Regions from separate parts of the Homo sapiens genome. Here regions 2 and 3 are each linked to region 1. The links are contacts of gene promoters, found by promoter capture Hi-C in human tissues and cell types (Jung and others, 2019). All regions are on one chromosome and are shown on one strand. Each heading gives the region's core, a stretch centred on a gene start or on the middle of the fragment in contact. The rest is flanking DNA. Distances are from core to core; before and after follow the strand shown.

Evidence for each region. The method cuts DNA at HindIII sites, captures the fragments that hold promoters and counts their contacts. A contact is called where the count stands out against the background at its distance.
Region 2: a fragment that was not itself captured here is called in contact with the fragment with the promoter of KCNA10 in region 1 in 2 of the 25 tissues and cell types used here (dorsolateral prefrontal cortex and thymus).
Region 3: a fragment that was not itself captured here is called in contact with the fragment with the promoter of KCNA10 in region 1 in 4 of the 25 tissues and cell types used here (IMR-90 fibroblasts, dorsolateral prefrontal cortex, spleen and 1 more).

What each region holds. Positions count from the first base shown.
Region 1 is chr1:110,517,843-110,520,541 of GRCh38, forward strand. KCNA10 (potassium voltage-gated channel subfamily A member 10) reads right to left here and starts at 1,333. Exons shown (of 1, transcript NM_005549.2): 1 at 1-1,333. The coding sequence starts at 945. The HindIII fragment of the contact is 7,025 bases long and covers 1-2,699 here.
Region 2 is chr1:110,636,305-110,639,003 of GRCh38, forward strand. No RefSeq gene overlaps it. Among named protein-coding and RNA genes, the nearest start is that of KCNA2, 31 kb to the left of the region's middle. The HindIII fragment of the contact is 3,377 bases long and covers 1-2,699 here.
Region 3 is chr1:110,585,365-110,588,063 of GRCh38, forward strand. No RefSeq gene overlaps it. Among named protein-coding and RNA genes, the nearest start is that of KCNA2, 20 kb to the right of the region's middle. The HindIII fragment of the contact is 7,567 bases long and covers 1-2,699 here.

The DNA of each region.
Region 1 (2,699 bases), core at 83-2,582:
GTAGGGGATAATGGAGATGATGTCAATGATGTTCATGATGTTCCTGAAGAAGTCAGTCTTGCTGGGGCAGACCACGAACCGGAGCACCAGCTCGAAGGTGAACCACACGATGCAGGTAGACTCCACCATGAAGAAAGGGTCGGTGAACATGGTCTGGGAGAGGACTGTCTTGCTCATGTTGAGATTGGGGTCTCTGACCACCTTTAGCTCCCTATCCTCCCGGAACTCTGGCAGTGTCTCCAGGCAGAAGATGGTGATGGAGATGACCACAACCAACACCGAGACCACGGCCACAGCACGGGCAGCGCTGGAACTTTCAGGGTACTCAAAGAGGAGCCAGAACTGACGGTGGATGTCATTGGTGGGTAGCAGTGTTTCAGGGTCTTTGATGAAGCCTTCATCCTCCCGGAACTGGTCCATGGCCTCACTACCCAGCTCATAGAAGGAGATTTCATCAGCAAAGATATCAATGGGAACATTGGCTGGGCGCCGAATTTTCCCACCAGATTGGTAATAATATAGGATTCCATCAAAACTGGGCCGGTTCCGATCAAAGAAATACTCATTTCTCATGGAGTCAAAGAACTGCATCCTTTTTTCCCGGTCTCCCAGGAGAGTCTCTGGGAACTGACTAAGGGTTCTGAGCTGGGTCTCAAATCTCAGCCCAGCAATGTTGATGATCACCCGCTGGTTTCCTTCATTTAGGACCACTGGCTCAGGCCCTGGGGGGTCAGCATAGTCTCCCGGAAGCTTGGAGAAGGCCGTCTCATGGTTGGTGCTTTCGCTGATGAGGATCTTCCCGTTGGAGAAGGAGCTGCCCCCAGGCCGGCCTTTTGGGCTGGTTGAGTCGAAGTCTGTGGCATAGCCTGGCTCTTCTTGGATTTCATCTGAATTATCAAAATTGACCAGCGCAACCTCCATTTCTTTCCAGCCACACACATCCATTCTAGGGGAGCCAGGGAAGAAGCATGAAGATCCTCAGCCTTCACTGCCTGCTGTGAGCTATGGAGAAGAAGAAGTTCATTATACAAGATCCAGGGCAGAATACAACTGGCCCTTGTTTATTGAGGTAAGGTACACCAATGGGCTAATCAATGACTTATTTGTAGCTTGGGAAGGAACGTCATGGTTATTTTGGCAGCATGCTTCCCTTAAAATCATTTTGTACCCCTGAGTTTGCATAAACTAATAACTAGGAGAAATTGCAAAAAAAGGATCCTGGCAAAGAAGGGGAGATTCTCCCCAGCAAAGGATGGTCTCCATATGTGATGGCAGAGGGGCCATACTAAAAGAGGAAGTTAACATTCCTTAATAATAAAAAGCATGATCTTGTATTTGCATGAAGCCTTCTGTCTCACCAAACACGTCTCCATGCCCAATCTCATTCGTAATGCCTCTCTTTCACACCAACAGCCAGTCCCTCACACATCCTTTTGGTCATGTCTTCAAAATATATCTAGAATTCAACCATTTTGCATCACTTCCACCCCTGCTTCTGGACCAAGTGGTGAAGGGTGGAACCAGATCTATGAACCCAATGGGGATTCTTTAGGGAAGGAAAAACAAGACGCTGGGTTGGCCAATCGACAATGTCCTCTAAATGACCCCTCACCTGGAAATAACTCCTAGAGTTGTTTTGAAGGTACCTCAAATGAGATAACACGTATGGAATGCTTGGTGGAAAGAAAGATCACTATATTATAGCTATTGTTTTTTGTCAACTTTCCCACATAACAAGCACTTTAGAAACTACCAGCAATTGGAATTTTTTTTGGCCTGAGTCCAAGGTGTCCATAGGAAGTAATTTCATTTTGAGAAATCATTTTAGGTGGGAAGGAAGTAAATAATTGTGTGTGTCTGTGTGTGTGTGTGTATATGTGTGTGTGTGTGTGTGTGTGTGCGCGCGCACGCTGGAGGTGGGGTTAGGAAATCATGCCCAGTGGGCTTGGACATCTATACACATAGACTAATATTTCTTTCCTCAGGTTCATTCTAGCTTCAGTTTCAATTTAAGAACACTGAACCCAGGCAGGCTGGGGGTGGGAGTGGGAGAGAAGTAAGGGACTTAACCTCAGGCAAAATCTGTAGTGGTCACAGCCTTGGAGAGGTTTCCTTTACAGGCGACAAGGCTATCCTGCAGTGTAGTGTTGTAGTCTTTTCAAAGTGATTCCACATTCACTTATCTCACTAGATGACAATAATCACGTGAGGTTAGATGTTATCTCTGTTTTGCAGATGCGGAAACCAAGTCACAGGGACAAAGTGACTTCCTAAGGTCACATAACTAGTGCTACAGAGTCCTGACCTAAACCTGGCCATGGCCTTCTGGCCCAGGGCCTTTCCCACTAGACCATGGAGTCCCTATATAGGAGCTGAGCCTTGTGGGGAGCTGTAGGCTAGGGCCACAGAATTGTCAGGGGTCCAGAGCTCTTTCCATCCCATGACCCCTTTTCTCAGTTCAGGTGCCATGTGTTGAATGATGAGCTCAAGTCTGGTTGGTCAGCACTGGTAGAGTACCCATTCTACCTCTCAGGAGTATGTGGCCATTGCAAACGGCCTAATTTCACGGAGCTGCTGCTTCCTCAGTTGTGGAATGAGGAAGGATGTACCCACTGCCAAGCATGCCAGGTGCCAGCCTGCTCTGCAAGGCTCGGTGAGCAGTAGGATGGCTGGGAGGCAGGATGGAATCTGAGAATAGA
Region 2 (2,699 bases), core at 138-2,637, 120 kb after region 1:
CTGCCTCTTCTGAATAAAGCAGATGCACTGTGGTTTTTCACAAGTGCTACTTCCTCCACCTTTCTTACATTTGCACAGTTTCGCTGATTCCCAGGTGTCTGCAGGTATTGTAGTTTGCAACCCTTTTCTAGTTAAGAACCCAGGGTTTGTAACCTGGCTTTGCCAATTTTAAGTTATTGTGACCTTAAAGAAAGGAGTCAATTTCTCTAAGCCACAGTTTCCTTATCTGAATATGAGAATAATAATAATACTTACCATGAGTTAAAGAACTCCTGGAAAATGGCTGGCAAGGAGGGAAGCACACCATGAGCGCTCACCAACTCTTAGCTGGTGAAATGCTGTCCAACAGTGGAGGAGGTAGCCTTGGGAGCTCTATCACCAATGCTGGGCCTGCAGAGGGGCTGCATGACCTGGTGGTAGCCAGGACTACAGAGGAGGGACAGCCACCAAGAACTCTGAAATAAGTGGGCCATGCAGCAGTACTCCTTGGGCCCTTCCCAATGACCAAGTCAAAGGTGTTGGTGTAGAGCTTCTCTTGATGCTCATTAAAATCAAATTTGAGGCCAGGTGTGGTAGCTCATGTCTGTAATCCCAGTGCTTTGGGAGACCAAGGCAGGCAGATTGCTTGAGCCCAGGAGTTTGAGACCAGCTTGTGCAACATGGCAAAACCCTGTCTCCACAAAAAAACAAACAAACAAACAAAAAAAAACCCCAAAAAAACAACAACCAAAAAAACCCCAAATTAGCCAGGCATGGTGGTCCATGCCTGTATTCCCAGCTTCTTGGGAGGCTGAGGTGGGAGGATTACCTGAGCCCAGGGAGGTCGAGACTGCAGTGAACCGTGATGGCACTTCTGCACTCCAGTGTGGGCAACACACTGTCTCAAAAATAAGTAAAATATTTTGTGTCTCAAAAATAAGTAAAATAAAATAAAAATAAAATAAAATTAGATTTGATCTGGAAAGAAATTTTGTAGAAAAGAATGTGTCACCTGGAGTAACCTACATCCAGAGTAACCTACATCCACTTGGGAGGCTGCAGTGTGCTCAGAGTGAGTTGGAGTTCCAGCCCTAGCTGATGGTGGGTGGGAGCATTCCCCTGCCCCTTCCTGCTCTGCTGCAGGGCTCCTTGGAGCTCACTGGCAGCATGTCCTCCCTTGGTAGCTGGATAGGCCCTTCAGTAGGCTCTGCAGGCTGAGCAGCCATGGGAGACAGCTAAACCCATACCCATACTTTGGCTCTGTGACAGAGTGGTCCAGCACTTCAGGACCTGCCTGGGTCCTGGGTCTGCCCCTGGGTGGGGCCTGGGTGGTATGGGTTCCCTTCGGGTGGTCTGGACTCAGCCTGATGAGACAGCCTTTGGTGGCTGGTTTCCATTGGCCCCTGAGAAGCCCTCTGCTGGAGCGGCATGGAGTGACTGAGAGAGTCAGTTCTGTGTCTTGAACTGTCATGTATTTTCTGGTTCTGGAAGCAGAATCTGCTTTATGTGCTTGAGATGCTGAGCCAAGGGCAGACACATCCTTATTCTCAGAGAGCCACTACAGGAGGGGAAGCAGGGGTCTACTGGCCGTGAGCACAGCAGTACATGCCGCATGTCTGCCAGACAGGCTGGGAAAAAGCTTGGGGGAGAGGGAGGGCTCACCAGGCCTGGAGGCTGCAGGAAGCCAGCCTCCTGGCCTCTGAGGATGGTGCTATGACACCAGTGCTGAGGACTGGTGGGTGCAGTGGGGTGAGTTGAATGAGCTGGGAATTCATGCTCTGAATCTATTTCCCCTGCTGCTTCTCCACTCCTCTATTCTCCCTCCCCTCTCCTCTTCGGCATTCACTGTAGCCTTGATACTTAAAATATCATCACAGCCAGTGAGCAGCTGTCAATGACCGGTCCCCTTACCTCAGCACTAGGTGGTGCTTGTATCTCCCTTCTGGCTGGCTGAGGAAGCTGGGCAGCAGGAGGCAGATGCTGGTTCAGAGCCCCTCTTCTTGCAGAATCATTAGGCAAAGCTCCCAGCAGCCTGACTTATGCAGATGTCAGAGCTCAGGCTTTGGTTCTTGTGCTTGAGCTAATTGGCATCTTTGGAGAAGCTTTTCAGCCTCTGGCCTGTGGGCACCTGTCCCTGAGGGGTGGCCCATCATTCAGCCTTGGTCTTTGCATTAGGCCTGTATAGCTACCGAGTTTTCACCCCAAGCCATGTCTGATGGCCTTTGGCTGGAATCTGGGATGGTAGAAAGCTGTTGAGACAGTTGAGTCTAAATTAAATATTAGATCTGGGTGGGTTTCACATATTTCATAGCATAACTTTGTTGGGATATTTATTTGCTCTTCTCCTGGTTCTCGCAATTTAATAATTGAGTAAAATCCGTTTTGACATTCAGCACTGATTTGCTTACATTCTGCTGAAGTGCACCTGCTCTGTGAGAGAGTGGGTGTGTGTCAGGAGGCTGGGAGAAGTGGGGGCAGACAACAGAAGCTTCAAATGAGAGACATGGCTTGGGCACTGACTTTATATGTGAAAATGTGATTCAGCCTTAAACTTGTGGGTCGCTTGCTAGATGACAAGCGCTAGATCAGACTCCAGTGGGAGAGTAAAATCATGGAAGATACCGTCTTCTTCCAGGAAGCTTGTGTTGGGGAAATAACGTCAAACACAACAACACCAGCTAAAGAGCAGAGTGCAAAGACAGGTGGCTCTCCCCTAATTC
Region 3 (2,699 bases), core at 131-2,630, 68 kb after region 1:
AGCTCCTCAAGAGTCAGGTCAGCTATTCACAGTTCTTCATCCTTCCCAGGAGCCCTAGATATTCAAGTCCCAGTAGGCTCAGTGCCCCAAATCTTATAGCCTAGGCCTAGTCTGGACTGGACTTTTGGACTTTTCTTGGGCTCCAGGTAGCCAGTGACAGGGCCAGCCAGGCCTGCTGGATGGGACCCAGGGCATGGTGTGAGGCCAACTCCCTCTGACAAGCCCAGGAGCTACACCCCAGGGGCTGGCCAAGCTGAGGCCCAGGGGCACTCCTTCTGGCAGGGCAGCTGGTTGGATTGATCTTGTAATTAAGTCAGGGCCAGGCCTGCCTACTTGGGCCCTTGCCCTTGGCTCCCAGGACGGGCCAGAATTTGTTGCTGAGGGCAGAGGGTTTATGCTTGGGTGGGGCTCAGACCTAAAACTTGGAGTCATGCTGGATGCCTTTGTCTTTCTTACATTGCATACTCAGTTCACCAGCAAATCCCATTGCTTCTGCCTTTAGTGTGTATCCAAAGTCCAACTGCTTCTCCCCAACTTCTCTGCTGCAACCATCCCAGCCTCCGTGCTCCTTGCTTGAATGATTGCAGTCTCCTTCTCACTGGGCCCCAGACTCTATCCTTGCCCCCTAGAGTCTGTTCAAAACAGCAGCTGAGGTGATCTGAAAACAATATGTCCAGTTAAGTTTCTCCTATGCTGAAAAGCCTCCTATGGCTTCCCACCTTACCCAGAGCAGAGTCCAGAGTCCTACAAGGTCCTATACAATCTGCAAGTCCCCTTCCCAACCTTACTCTTTAATTTCCCATTGTCTTCCCCCTTGCTTCTTCTGCTCCTGCAGCACTGGCCTCAATGCATGCCCTCTTCCACCTCGCCTCACTGACTGTGCCCTTGCACTCCCTGAGCATGGAATGATCTTCTCACATGAATCTGTATGGCCAACTCTCTGACTTCCTAAAGGTCTCTGCTTAGATGTCACCTTATCCAAGAGACCTTCCCTGCCCACCCTGCATAAAAGTGCACCGCCTACTGTCACTCTTCATCTCCCAATCTTGCTTTGATTTTATTAATAGTATTTTCTTTCTCACTTATCCCCCACCAGAAAGTCAAGTCCATGAAAGCAGGAGCTCTGACTGTTTTGTTTACAGATATATATTCCCCAATAGCAAGGAAGGGGATACAATTCTTTGCATTCTATGCATTTGCATGAGGTGCTGGAACATAATAGGAGCTTAATTCATGGTGCCTGACTTAGTGCATCTCTCCCTTGCCAAATGCTGTGACCCTTGACTTCTTTGGAAGAAGAGCATGGTGCAGTTGGCTTGATTGGCAGTCGGCAGACTGGCATTTTAGTTGCCAATTCACTTGTGGCCTTAAGCAAGCCGCTGGCCTCCTCTGGACCTCAATCTTCTCACCTACAAAATAAGGCAATTGGTCTAGTTGATCTCCAAGACCCTTTCCAGACTGGACTAGCCAGGATTCTATTGCTCCCAACTTCCTCACCCCTTGCCTTATTCTTGGGAGGCAACTGTCACATAAGGAAGCATGGACCAGGTGACAAGAGACCCGAGTTCTTTTCTTCACTTCCAGCTATGTGTCCTTGGCAAGTTTCCATCCTCTCAGCACCTTGGTTTTCTTGTCTATAAACTGAGTGTTGTAATGCCTGACCCGACGGCTGCCACACAGATTTACTGTGAAGGTCAGTGGATAAGAAACTGCTTTGGAGTCTGGGTCATGAATAAGAGGGAGAGTTAGTAGCACGGGCTTTGCGGCCAGATAACCTGGGTTCAAATCCTGCCTTTGGAAGTTATGTACAACTTCCTCGCAAGTCAGGTAAGCTTCTCTGTGCCTCTGTTCTCCTGAGTATAATGTGGGGCTAATTAGGGCCTTAGACATAGGATGGTTGTAAGGATTGATAAACTTATTTAGAACAGGGCCTGGCATAGAGTATGTGCCATATATAAGCGTTTTCTTTTATTATTCATTCCTAGAATTACTCATTTATTTTGCAATCATTTATTAAAGGCTCCTGCCTATTTATGGGCTACTATTGGTTCAGGGTTCATTTCCTCCCCTCTCCCAATTAATTTTTTTCTACACCTTTCCTTTCTGATGGGGAGGAATGAAGAAGGAGGCTGGGGAAGAAGTTCAGACCCCCCGCTAGGCTTTCTCTGTCTGTCAGGAGCTGACGCCCAAAGGAAGACAGCTTTTTCAGGAACGTTTAATATAGCAATTGCTCATTCACACCTTGCAGCCTCATGAATCCCATTGACAAAAATACCCGAGGAGGGTGATCCCATTCCATTGTACCTCATAATCCCTAGACTTCCTTATCTTCCCCAGAATGCCTTGTTCCTATATTTTCCTGGAGTTTCAGGGGTAAGAGGTTGGGGAAACAGAGTCAGAGTCCTTGGCGATTTTTGCTGAAGTGTCCCTGTAAGGCTCAGCTGAGTGTTGACCCCACCAGGATGGTGGCTCTGGTTTCACGCCAAAGGCTTTGACAGTGTATTAGTCAGGGCTCTCCAGAGGGGTGGAACACTGGGATAAATATGAAAGGGAATTTATTAGGGGGAATTGGCTCACATAGTTGCTAAGGTGAAGTCCCAAGATAGGTTTTCTGCAAGCTGGAAGATGACAGAAGCCAGTAGTGTGGCTCCCAGAGAGGCTGGCAGCGTGTCTCAGTTCAACTCTGAAAGCCTCAGAAC